Linked DNA regions of Homo sapiens: regions 1, 3 and 4 are each linked to region 2. The links are contacts of gene promoters, found by promoter capture Hi-C in human tissues and cell types (Jung and others, 2019). All regions are on one chromosome and are shown on one strand. The core of a region is centred on a gene start or on the middle of the fragment in contact, and the rest is flanking DNA. Distances in the headings are between cores, read along the strand shown.

Evidence for each region. Contacts are between HindIII fragments. The study calls those that stand out against the background at their distance.
Region 1: the fragment with the promoter of KREMEN2 here is called in contact with the fragment with the promoter of ZNF200 in region 2 in 1 of the 25 tissues and cell types used here (spleen).
Region 3: a contact is called between a fragment that was not itself captured here and the fragment with the promoter of ZNF200 in region 2, in 2 of the 25 tissues and cell types used here (IMR-90 fibroblasts and dorsolateral prefrontal cortex).
Region 4: a fragment that was not itself captured here is called in contact with the fragment with the promoter of ZNF200 in region 2 in 1 of the 25 tissues and cell types used here (bladder).

What each region holds. Positions count from the first base shown.
Region 1 is chr16:2,962,606-2,965,673 of GRCh38, forward strand. KREMEN2 (kringle containing transmembrane protein 2) reads left to right here and starts at 1,670. Exons shown (of 9, transcript NM_172229.3): 1 at 1,670-2,009; 2 at 2,254-2,428. The coding sequence starts at 1,916. RefSeq lists enhancers at 1-902, 389-518, 2,487-3,068, 3,049-3,068 and silencers at 599-678, 709-838, 1,389-1,468, 1,999-2,248, 2,319-2,688. The HindIII fragment of the contact is 31,540 bases long and covers 1-3,068 here.
Region 2 is chr16:3,233,699-3,236,482 of GRCh38, forward strand. ZNF200 (zinc finger protein 200) reads right to left here and starts at 1,460. Exons shown (of 5, transcript NM_198088.3): 1 at 1,289-1,460; 2 at 1-138. The coding sequence starts at 57. RefSeq lists enhancers at 1,499-1,558, 1,569-1,778. The HindIII fragment of the contact is 11,744 bases long and covers 1-2,784 here.
Region 3 is chr16:3,605,019-3,607,985 of GRCh38, forward strand. SLX4 (SLX4 structure-specific endonuclease subunit) reads right to left here. Exons shown (of 15, transcript NM_032444.4): 3 at 1,456-1,680. Among named protein-coding and RNA genes, the nearest start is that of SLX4, 5.1 kb to the right of the region's middle. The HindIII fragment of the contact is 4,547 bases long and covers 1-2,967 here.
Region 4 is chr16:3,520,319-3,523,278 of GRCh38, forward strand. CLUAP1 (clusterin associated protein 1) reads left to right here. Exons shown (of 12, transcript NM_015041.3): 8 at 2,840-2,960. Among named protein-coding and RNA genes, the nearest start is that of CLUAP1, 21 kb to the left of the region's middle. The HindIII fragment of the contact is 3,871 bases long and covers 1-2,960 here.

The sequences.
Region 1 (3,068 bases), core at 420-2,919, 270 kb before region 2:
GGGAAGGGGCTGATTCCTCCACCAGCGTCCCAAGCCGGCCCCCTTTCCGCACAGAGTCCTTAATTGTCCCTGTCGCCACCTTGCCCCATCCTCAGATGGCTGTGGCTGTGGGGGTGAAGCTCCCCACGCACCGCCATTGTGCAGGCCTGCCCCTAGGACATCCTCTGTGGACTGGAGCCCGGGAGGACTTCACTGAGCCCCCGCCAAGAGAAACCGGGCAGACAGGTGGTCCCGGATGCTCCCTCGTCGGGAAGCGCAGTTGGGTTCCAGGGAGCCCGTGGGTGCTGGAGGCCCCAGCTCAGGGCTCAGTGAGCCGGGCCAGCCTGGCCTCTGAGAGGGCTCCCGGAGGAGGCGACCAGGACCCTGGCCTAGAGTCTCAGCAAGTCCATCTCCTTCAAATGCCCCCACCTCGGCTCCACGCCCCTCCTCCAGAGCACACTCGCGTGAGGCGCCAGCTGGAAGATCCTCGCGGGTCCCAGCACCGCAGTGGGTGCCTGGGCCTGACAGAACCTCCCTGAACCCCATCTTTCTTCTCCATCGACACCGGGGCAGAGACGGTGTGGGGGCTGCAGGGCGGGGACTGGTCGGCCTGGGCTCGACAGCTTGGCGAGGGCCTGGTGCGGGCTGGGCAGGCTGGACTGAGGGGCAAAGAGGTCTGGGCGGGGCGGGGCCGCTCTGGGCGCCCGGCCCCCACCAGTTCCTTCCCCCGGCCCCCGCCTCCGCCCTCCCACGCACCTGCGCTGGCCTCCCCCCAAGCCCTGGGGGCAGCGGGCGGGTGGCGCTGGGAGATCAGAGGACTCGGAGGAGTCGGGCCCAGGGGGAGGGGGCGGGGAATTTCCCCCCACGCCTGCCTGGGCCTGCTCCCCTCCCCCTCCCCCGCCAGGTGGGGGGCACGGCTGGGGGAATTCCACTGCAGTGTGAAGGCTCGGGAGAGTCTGGGCTGGGGGTCCCAGGGAAGGGCGGGGCAGGGGGAGGAGGAGGGGACAGACTGGGACCTGGGGCGCAGCTGCCTTTCTCCCCAGACACCAGCTGCCCCTGCCTGTCCCGGACTGAGCGTCCACGACTCCCGCCTGTCTCGTGGGCGCGGGGGCAGGGAGTGGAGCTTCCTCCGTCAGGCCAGCGGCATCTGGACCAGGGGCGGGAGGGGCGTGCGGATCCGAAGAAAGTGTGCGCGTGAGCGCCTGGCAATGAATGGGAGAGAGTGCGAGCGCGTGCGTGCACTGGGAGGAGGGCGCTTGTAACTCGGACATTCCGGGTGTCCTGGGGCGCGTGCGACCACGTGAGGGGGTTCTGTATCTCCCATTTTAAGGGCCTTCCGTCCGCTTGCCCCGCCTGTCCCCCTCCACACCTTCCCACTTGAACCGGCACCGACCTGAGGGAGAGGGGGCCGGGAAGCGCTGGACGCCCGGGGTCGGGGGAACGGGCGTGGGAGGCGTCTGGACCTGCTGCCTCCGCTCCAGTGCTGGGCGGGGCTTCCCGGCCTCCCATGGGGGGAGGGAGAGACCCAGGGGGAGGGACCCACGGAGGGATGCGAGGCGGGCAGGAGTCAGCCCGTTGGAGACCTGGGCGAGGGAGACGCCGAGAGCTAGGCTCAGTGGGAGGGGGCGGGCGTAGAGGCTGAGGCACCGCCCAGAGCTCGCTGAGACAGAGACTGAGAACGCCCCCGGCCAGATTCCCCCCGGAGAGACCCGGGTAGGGACAGGGACAGAGAGACGCCTCTAGGGGCAGAGGCCCTGGGAGGCAAAGACCCCCAGGAGAGATTTACCCACCCCAGACGGAAAGCGCGGCTCAGAGTCGGACGAGGGGAGACTGTCAGAGGACAACGCCCCCTAGGTCTCCTGGGAGACCCCGAAGCGACCCCGGGGGCAGCCCGGGCCGTGTCCGGGCGAGGGTGACCTATCCTTGGTTGAGAGCGATGGGGACACAAGCCCTGCAGGGCTTCCTCTTTCTCCTCTTCCTCCCGCTGCTGCAGCCGCGTGGGGCCTCGGCTGGGAGCCTGCACAGTCCAGGTAAGTCCCCGCACGGCTGTCGGGCCGTGTTCACCACCCCTTCCTCGGCCTCCGCCCCCAGGGCCAGGCCCCCAAGGCTAGGGAGGGGGACAGAGCAGGTGGCCGGAGCAGCTGAGCAGCCCGAGGGCTCCTGCAGGGGCGGGTGCGGGGTCGCTGGCTGGGGACCCAGGCGGGAGGTGGCGTAGGGGCGCGAGGATGCCCGGCGTGGGTCCGGACCTCCCCAGGCCCTGCCTTTGCCGTGCAGGCCTGTCCGAATGCTTCCAGGTGAATGGGGCTGACTACCGCGGCCACCAGAACCGCACTGGCCCGCGCGGGGCGGGCCGCCCGTGCCTCTTCTGGGACCAGACGCAGCAACACAGCTACAGCAGCGCCAGCGACCCCCACGGCCGCTGGGGGCTGGGCGCGCACAACTTCTGCCGGTGAGGGGCGGGGCCTGCGCTGGGGGCGAGGCTGGGCTCACCATTGCAGGGATGGCCCGAAGCGGGGCCTCCGTGCGGGCGGGGTGGAGGTCTGCCGTGGACTGGCAGCCCAGCCTCCTGGAGAACCTGGGGGCGGGGCCAGAATGAGGGGCGGGGCGGGGCGGGGCGGGGCGCGCGGAACCCTGGCGCAAAAGGGATCCTCCTCAGGTGAACAATTTCTGCAGAGCTCCAGTTCAGGGCCAGGAGAGAAACGGACCTGGGCACTCAAAGGACCCGTATGGGCGGGGCCTGGTCAGAGCGGGGGCCGAATGGGCGGGGCCTTGTCAGAGTGGGGCTCTTGTCATACAACTTATTTTGGGGTTCAGAGCCACAGCTACGGTCTGAGGCAGGATGGACCCAGCGGGAGGAGAGCCGCAAAGCTCAGGAGCTCACTTCTGCTTTTAAGTGGGGTTGGAGGCCAGGCGCGGTGGCTCAGCCTGTAATCCCAGCACTTTGGGAGGCCAAGGCAGGCGGATCATCTGAGGTCAGGAGTTCGAGACCAGCCTGGCTACCATGGTGAAACCCCATTTCTACTAAAAATACAAAAAATTAGCGGGGCATGGTGGCGGGCGCCTGTAATCCCAGCTACTCAGGAGGCTGA
Region 2 (2,784 bases), core at 210-2,709:
CAGTATAAAGGACTGCTTTGGCTTTGGGGGCATAGGAACCACTTTTGCAGCCATCATGCCTTGCAACCACACACCACACTCGTTTCGCGGGGCCTCCAGAGCCACCTCTTACTAGAGGAAATCTGCCAGAGAGCCAAGCTGTAGACAGAGAAACCAGGGATTACCCAAAAGACCAGGCACGGCATTACTGCACTCCAATATGTGGCATGGCTGGTGAGGCTACATGAGATCTAAAGAAAACGACAGCTGGGATAGGGAAATCATAACTGAAACGCAGTATTTGAACAAGATATGCTTAGGAAGATGTGAAAGGAAGATCCTGAGAATGAAAAACAGAGACTGTGCAAACCTCAAGTCCAAAGGGAAGGGAGTAAGGGTGGAGCGGAGAAGGCCAAGGTCCAGCCTCCTGAGAAATACAAAGTGTGGCCAGGTACCGGTGGCTCACACCTGTAATCCCAGCACTTTGGAAGGCCCTGGCGGGTGGATCGCTTGAGTCCAGGAGTTCAAGACCAGCCTGGGCAACACAGCAAGACACCGACTCCATAAAAAAAAAAAAAATTAGCTGGGCGTGGCGACACAAGCCTGTGGTCCCAGCTACTGGGGAGCTGGGAGGATTGCTTGTGCCCAGGAGGTCGAGGCTGCAGTGAACTGTGATCGCGCCACTGCACTGCAGTCTGAGCGACAAAGCAAGACCCTGACTCTAAAAAAAGAAAGGAAAAGAGAAAGGAAAGAAGGAGGAAGGGAATCAGGGAAGAGAAAGAAAATAAAAGGAAAAAGAAAGAAAAGACAGAAAGAAAGACGGTGTGTAAAACCCACCAGGAATAGGTTAAATCAGGCTTGGAGAAAGAGCAATGGGCTAGAAGACAGGAAATCTGGGGTCAATACCGAGGACATCTGCCTAAAAGCAGGTTGGTCACTGAATCTGGCCATACTGTACCCCTCGAACCGAAGCTCCCTCCGGTGCCCTTTGGGCGGGGAGGCGGTTGGTGACTCTCCCGGGGAGCAGATGCAAGGCCGAGGAGGTGTCCACACACCGCCTGCCGACTCCTCTCCGCCGTCAAAGCTCTGCTGAGAGCGGCAGGCGACATCCCACTAAGGACCGCCGGGCCAGGCTCACTCTGGGGCCTCTTCCGCTGGTCAAGGAACACCTTTACCGTAAAGCTCAGCGTGCGCCCCTGCCTGAGGCGCTCACCAGGCTCCCTACCCGGCCTTGCTCCCTCAGCAACGGACACGCTCCGCTCCCCAGAGGCGGCCTCAGCCTGGTTCCCGCCCTCACGGAGCCCCTCACCTCTCGGGGCCTCTGCAGCCCCTGAGCGTTTGCTGGGGACGGCTCAGAGACTCAGGCTCCGGGAGAGATAGAAAAACTAGGCGCGAGCGGTCGAGCCCTCCCCTCGCCCTTCCGAGTGCCCTCACAGGTCGCCGGCGACTATTCGTTCGCGCCGCCGCCAGTTGAGGAGAACGGCAGGGACTCGGTGCCTTCTGGGAAGTCGGGCGCTCTGCGGCTGTGACGTCACAACCGGTGCCTTGTTTCCGGTGCAGAAGCCTGGTCTCCCCGTTCGGAGCCGGCAGTCTGCGCTTGAGACGTTAAGACTTGAGACAGGCCAGAGGAGCTCTCAGGGCCGGAGGGAGGCCAGGACGGCTGTAGCCTCTCTGTGGTTCTGCCTGGAAGACGGAAGGCAGGTGGTTGGCTCTAGTCATCCACGACGGGCTGGCACCTCTCCAGCTGCGGCCAGTCTAACCCCAGGGCCTGCTGGGAAATGTAGTTCGAATGCAAACAACCAATGGACGACCGTCAGGCGCGGCGGTTGGGGCGGGGCAGGCCCCCCCACCGCCCCACCCCCCGCCCACCCAGCGCCCGCGCTCCCCCCACCCCCCACCCCGCCACCCCCCTACCCCGCCACTCCCCCACCGCCCTACTCTCCCCACCCCCCACCCCCCTACTCTCCCCACCCCCCACCCCCCACCCCGCCACCCCCCACGGCGCCACCCCCCAACCCCCACCCCCCTACTCTCCCCACCCCCCTACTCTCCCCACCCCCCTACTCTCCCCACCCCCTACTCTCCCCACCCCCCTACTCTCCCCACCCCCCCACCCCCTACTCTCCCCACCCCCCTACTCTCCCCACCCCCCTACTCTCCCCACCCCCCCACCCCCTACCCTCCCCACCCCCCCACCCCCCTACCCTCCCCACCCCCCTACCCTCCCCACCCCCCTACCCTCCCCACCCCCCTACCCCGAGGCTTAAAGGAAGCAAGCTATCTCTCCGACCGGAAAATCAAGACGCCTCCGCGGTTTCCGCCTTTTACTGCGGTTCTCCAGTAAAAAGACTGCGGAGGCGGACAGGGTGTGGCCGCCATGGGACTCCGCCCCCGCTCTGGTGACTCCCATAGGTTAGAGATGGGGCACCGACATTGCCCACTCCAGCTTGCTAACTTCTACACTGCTGTCCGCACCGGCCGTCTTGTTTTTAAAGACATCTTAATTGCCCTTCTCCTACTGTCTCGGTTTCCTTTCTCAATTTCAGCTTCCTACGGAGGCCGAACAGAGTTTTGTGTTTGTGCGTTGTATCCACACTCGGTTCGTTCCCCAGTGACGCACTGATCAGGGTTCGGACAACTTGTGGGCAGGGATGGCCTTATTTCTCGATGTAATACCAGCCTCCAGAAAGTTGACAAAAGTAAAAATATAAATGAATGCCTCTTCTTAAAGTTAATTATACCTGACTAATGGCTGACGATGGCTTAAAATATGTTACAAAGAAACGAGTATGAAAACTGTGTGGC
Region 3 (2,967 bases), core at 91-2,590, 370 kb after region 2:
CAAGCAATCCTCCCACCTCAGCCTCCCGAGTAGCTGGGACTACAGTTGTGCACCATCATGCCCAGCTAATTAAAAAAAAATTTTTTTTTGAGTCAGAGTCTTGCTCTGTTGCCCAGGCTGGAGTGCAGTGGTGCAATCTCGGCTCACTGCAAGCTCTGTCTCCCAGGTTCACGCCATTCTCCTGCCTCAGCCTCCCGAGTAGCTGGGACTACAGGCACCCACCACCATACCTTGCTAATTTTTTGTATTTTTCATAGAGATGGGGTTTCACTGTGTTAGCCAGGATGGTCTCAATCTCCTGACCTTGTGATCTGCGCACCTCGGCCTCCCAAAGTGCTGGCATTACAGGCGTGAGCCACCACGCCTGGCCCCTAAAATTTTTTTGTAGAGATGGGGGTCTCACTATGTTGTCCAGGCTGGTCTCGAACTTGTGACCTCAAGTAGTCCTCCTGCCTTGGCCTCCCAAAGTTTTGGGATTATAGGCATGAGCCATCATGCCTGGCTTCATTGTAATTAAAACAACAACAACAAAAAAACCTTTTCTGAAAGGAAGAGTTCTTTGTGAATACTGAGGGTTATCTTTTTAAAAGGAAAAAACTGAAAGGGAAAGCTTTCATAATAAAAAGTCATAATTTTTAAAAAAAGGAGGCCAGGCACAGTGGCTCACGCCTGTAATCCCAGCACTTTGGGAGGCCAAGGCGGGTGGATCACGAGGTCAGGAGATCGAGACCATCCTGGCTAACAAGGTGAAACCTTGTCTCTACTAAAAATACAAAAAATTAGCCAGGCGTGGTGGTGGGAGCCTGTAGTCCCAGCTACTCGGGAGGCTGAGGCAGGAGAATGGCGTGAACCTGGGAGGTGGAGCTTGCAGTGAGCTAATATCGTGCCACTGCACTCCAGCCTGGGTGACGGAGCGAGACTCCATCTCAAAAAAAAAAAAAAAAAAAAAAAAGGAAGAGGGCCAGGTGCAATGGTTCACGCCTGTAATCCCAGCACTTTGGGGAGCTGAGGTAGGCAGATCACTTGAGGTCAGGAGTTCGAGACCAGCCTGGCCAACTTGGCGAAACCCTGTCTCTACTAAAAATACAAAAATTGGCCAGGTGTGGTGGCACACGTCTGTAATCCCACTGGCTGGGGCAAGATAATTGCTTGAACCTGGGAGGCGGAGGTTGCAGTGAGCTGAGATCATGTCACTGCACTCCAGCCTGGGTGACAGAGCAAGGCTCTGTCTCAGAAAAAAAAACAAAACGGTACCTTATCAAGGAAGCTAGGTGGGAAATGATCCCAGAGACTCTTCATTCTCTGGCTGGATCCAGTGAAGTGGCAAAGGTAAAACATCAAGCAGAGAGCCTATCCACAGAAGAAACTCAACAAATGCTGATTCCTTCCCGCCTCCCTTCCTCAGAGTTGTATTAACTTATCTCTGTGTGGAAGACAGAAACACACTCATCATACCATTCCCCGCCATCATCTCCTCTTGAGGATCCTTTGGGACATTTTCTTCCCGCGCAGCCTCGAGGGAGCACTCTTCTGAAGCGTGTCTCAAACGCTCGGGGTCTGCTCTCTTGAACTGCTGCATTCGCTGTAGGACCAATTGTGCTGTGCGGGGTTTGGAGGGACTTGGCACTGCTGTTGTCAAACAGGAAGGAGGAGGCTGGGAGTCGCTGTTGGGCACATTCTCTGGCAAGGAGGAAAATATTCACAACCATCTGTTGTAGCTGGAGAAATAAAAGACTTTTCTACCAGATACAGGTTAGACGCAAGTTTCAAGAGTCCTTTATCAACTAGTTTAGGTTTGACTCACAAATGTGAAGAGGACTGGTTGCTTGTTGGTAACCTCTTTGTTTATGGCAATATAGACATAAATATCAATAACAGGAGGGGAATGGGATGTGACTGCTAATGAGCATGGGGTTTATTTTTAGGATGATAAAACTGTTCTAACGTTAGGTAGTGGTGGTGGTTGGACAAGTCTGTGAATATACTAAAAACCACTGAACCATACCCTTTTAAATGGTGAATTTTATGGAATATCAATTATACCCCAATAAAGCTATTATTAAAGAAATATTAATGACAAAGGTTTATGTCCTAGATCAGTTCTTCTTTAACTTGGGATCCACGGATGATCTTCAGTGGGGATCCATGAACCCCATGAAGTTGTGTGCCAGTTTTGCAGATACGCGCATGGATACGTGTTTTGGGGGAACCATGCATAGATTTCATCCGACTGGCAAAGAGCACGAGAGACCAGTAAAGTTGGTGAGGCAACACTGCTGATGCCTTCCAGTAGTCTATGCGACCTGAGACTCTACCACCACTCTACTGAGAGGTTATTAAGATCAGGAAGTGAGGGCAAAGGAAATTTAGAAACAGAACTCAGGAGCTCAGAGAGCCCATGGTGTATTATATATGCAAGGGTAGTTTTCAGTTTTGCATGAAGAATGTGTAGTAAGCATATAGCTCAGTATACCAAGGGCAGCAGGGCAAGAAAACTGCTTTAAACAGTTAAAAAATTATCCAGGCACGGTGGTGGGTGCCTGTGGTCCCAGCTACTCGGGAGGCTGAGGCAGGGAGGACTGCTTGAACCTGGGAGGTCAAGGCTGCAGTAAGCTATGATAGCACCACTGCACTCCAGCCTGGGTGAGAGACCAAGATCCTGTCTCTAAAAACTAAGTAAGTAAATAAATCAATAACAATAACAAAGGAAAAGATTAAAAGGTCTTCAGAGAGAGAAAGAAAGAACCTGAAGATTCTCCTGGGACTTGAGCCCACACAGAGTCCTCATGCGGCCCTCTCAGCAGCCTATCCAAATTGGCTGGCCCAGTCCAACTTACCCACTTTGGAATAAATTCAAGAAAACAAGAGAAGCAGCATTATTGTGTTGTTTGTGTAACTCATGTCAATCATATAACAGAATTTCATAGGAAATTCTGAAAGAGCAGAGGACTCCAAACACAATCATGT
Region 4 (2,960 bases), core at 343-2,842, 290 kb after region 2:
CTATGGTTGCATCACTGCACTCCAGCCTGAGCCACAGAACAAGGCCGAGTAACAGAACAAGGCCCTGACTCTAAAAGAAAAAAAAAGTTAGAACAAAGACTTAAGAGAATAGAATGTGATCTTAACTCTTCTCAAGCAATGAAAAAAAGCCTTACATAAGGGTATCTTCACCTCAAATGTACATGTGTTGCCTGTCATAACAAGCAGATGGCTAAACTCATTCTCTTTACTGCTTGCGGTATGTCTGGAAAACTGCTTAAAGCTTGAACTGCCCTTTAAGCTTTTATAGCTTCTTGGAACTCAAGGCAGAGTAAGTGAATCCAGACGGGGAAATCCAGACGTGGTCTCCTAAGATCTTGCCATAAATTAGGTAGAAACAGAAACATACTCCTGCCTGTTTGTTGGCATAGATTTTAGACTTTATTTAAACCTTGATCATTCCTCACCAGTCAGTAATTCATCTTTCTTCCTACGTTACCTCATTGGAAATATATTTCCCAGGAATACCGATGGAGAATAGTGGTGCCGGCTCTCTCTCTCTTCTCTTCCTCGTTCTGTGCCTCTTTCCCTCCCCCATGCTTCTGCTCTTTCTCCCTTTTCATTCACCCTTTATTTTTCTTTCTTCTTGGCTCCCTCCTCTTCCCAGCTGCCTACTCTGCTCGGATGTTTTGCCTTTTTGGATGTTGGTGGCTGGCTACACCCTGCCCACTGTCCCGAGGTCTGTGGGGAGGCAGCACCTGGAGGCAGCGACAGCAACCACAGGGAGCGCCCTGGCTCCTCCCTGCCCAGCGCAAGGCCAAGGCCCTTCCCCTCCTGAAACTGGCTCTTTACCTCTGGAGCCTCAGAGAGGGAAAAAAAAAAAAACAGAAGTCATTGCCGCCATATAGATTGATCTCCTTGACACATTCCACTTTTAAAGCATCAATTCATTTTTGTTAAGCTCCAAATCATTTTAACAGAAAAGTCTCTTTGTTTTGCTCTAGTTCAAAAGATTATAATTATTTCTGAGTTTATCTGCTTATATTTTTAAAAGAGTAGAATTTTCCCTTTAAGGTCAATAATAAGAAAAAAGAAAAAGTTCAGCAAACCAGTATAGATTTTTATGGTTTTTTTTGTTTTTGTTTTTTTTTTTTGAGTTGGAGTTTCGCTCTTGTTGCCGAGGCTGGAGTGCAATGGCGCGATCCCGGCTCACTGCAAACTCTGCCTCCCGGATTCAAGCGATTCTCCTGCCTCAGCCTCTCAAGTAGCTGGGATTACAGGCGGCCGCCACCACGCCCAGCTAATTTTTGTATTTTTAGTAGAGACGGAGTTTCACCATGTTGGCCAGGCTGGTCTTGAACTCCTGACCTTGTGATCCACCTGCCTTGGCCTCCCAAAGTGCTGGGATTACAGGCATGAGTCATCATCACGCCTGGCCTTTTTAAAAAATTTTTTATCGTTTAAAAACCTCTTTAGACTGGGCACAGTGATTCACGTCTATAATCCCAGCACTTTGAGAGGCCAAGGCGGGCAGATCGCTTGAACTCAGGGGTTCAAGACCAGCCTGGGCAATATGGCGAAACCCCATCTCTACAAAAAAAAAATATAAAAAATAGCTGGGCATAGTGGCACATGTCTGTAGTCCCAGCTACTTGGGGGCCTGAGACAGGAGGATCACCTGAGCCCAGGCGTTCGATGCTGCAGTAAGCCATGATCACACCACTGCACTGTAGCCTGGGTGACAAAGTGAGACCCTGTCTCAACAAACAAAAAAAAACCACCAGCCTTAATTCGTAACAACCTGTGGTCCCCTTTTTAGAGGATTGCTTTAAATTTATAATATCCTGACAGTAGAACATTATTATTATTATTATTATTTCTTTTGAGATGGAGTCTCTCTGTGTTGCCTAGGCTGGAGTGCAGTGGCGCAATCTCGGCTCACTGCAACCTCCACCTCCCAGGTTCAAGCAGTTCTCCTGCCTCAGCCACCCGAGTAGCTGGGATTACAGGCATGTGCCACCACGCCTGGCTAATGTTTGTATTTTTAGTAGAGACGAGGTTTCACCATGTTGGCCAGGCTGGTCTGAAACTCCTGACCTCAGTTGATCCACCCGCCTCAGTCTCCCAAAGTGCTGGGATTACAGGCGTGCGCCACCGCACCCGGCCAACAGTAGAACATTATACCCAAATAAGATAATAATATATATATTTATTGATTTGGAGAGATGTGTCTGGTATGTGATTTTTTTGCCTTTAGAGATGGGGTCTCAATGTGTCACCCAGGCTGGAGGGCTGGAGTGCCACGGCAAGGTCAGAGGATCCTCACTCACTGCAGCCTTGAACTCCAGGGCTCAATCCTCCTCCTACTTCAGCCTCCCAAAGTGCTAGGGTTACAGGTGTGAGCCGATGCACCCAGCCTGATCATTTTTAACTCTATTGAGATTACGGTATATTGAAATGAAATAAAGATTATAAAATTTCTTGGTATATTTAATTTTTTTTTTAAATGCATTCCTATCTATATTTATGCATAGAAAAGTCTGGAAGGATGTATGTCAACTATCAAGCGCTTATACCTGGTGATGGGATTATCAGTAATTTTTACGTCATTCTTCATACTTTCAGGATTATTTCAAGTTTTTACAAAGAGCACATCTTATTTATGATGAAAAAGAAGTATGTTCATTTTGGGGGGAGAAAGCAGAAAAGGGAAAATATTTTTAAGCATTACAAGAATGAAGGACCTTCTCTAATTAAGGGTTTCCAGAGAAAGCCACCATGGAATCTGAAACTGTGAATACCCATTTCAAACTACTGCATATAATTCACCTTTCCTTTTTATTTCATTTGCTTCTTTTAGGCCATGTTTTATGGATGAGTATGAGAAGACTGAGGAAGAATTACAAAAGCAGTATGACACTTATCTGGAGAAATTTCAAAATCTGACTTATCTGGAACAACAGCTTGAAGACCATCATAGG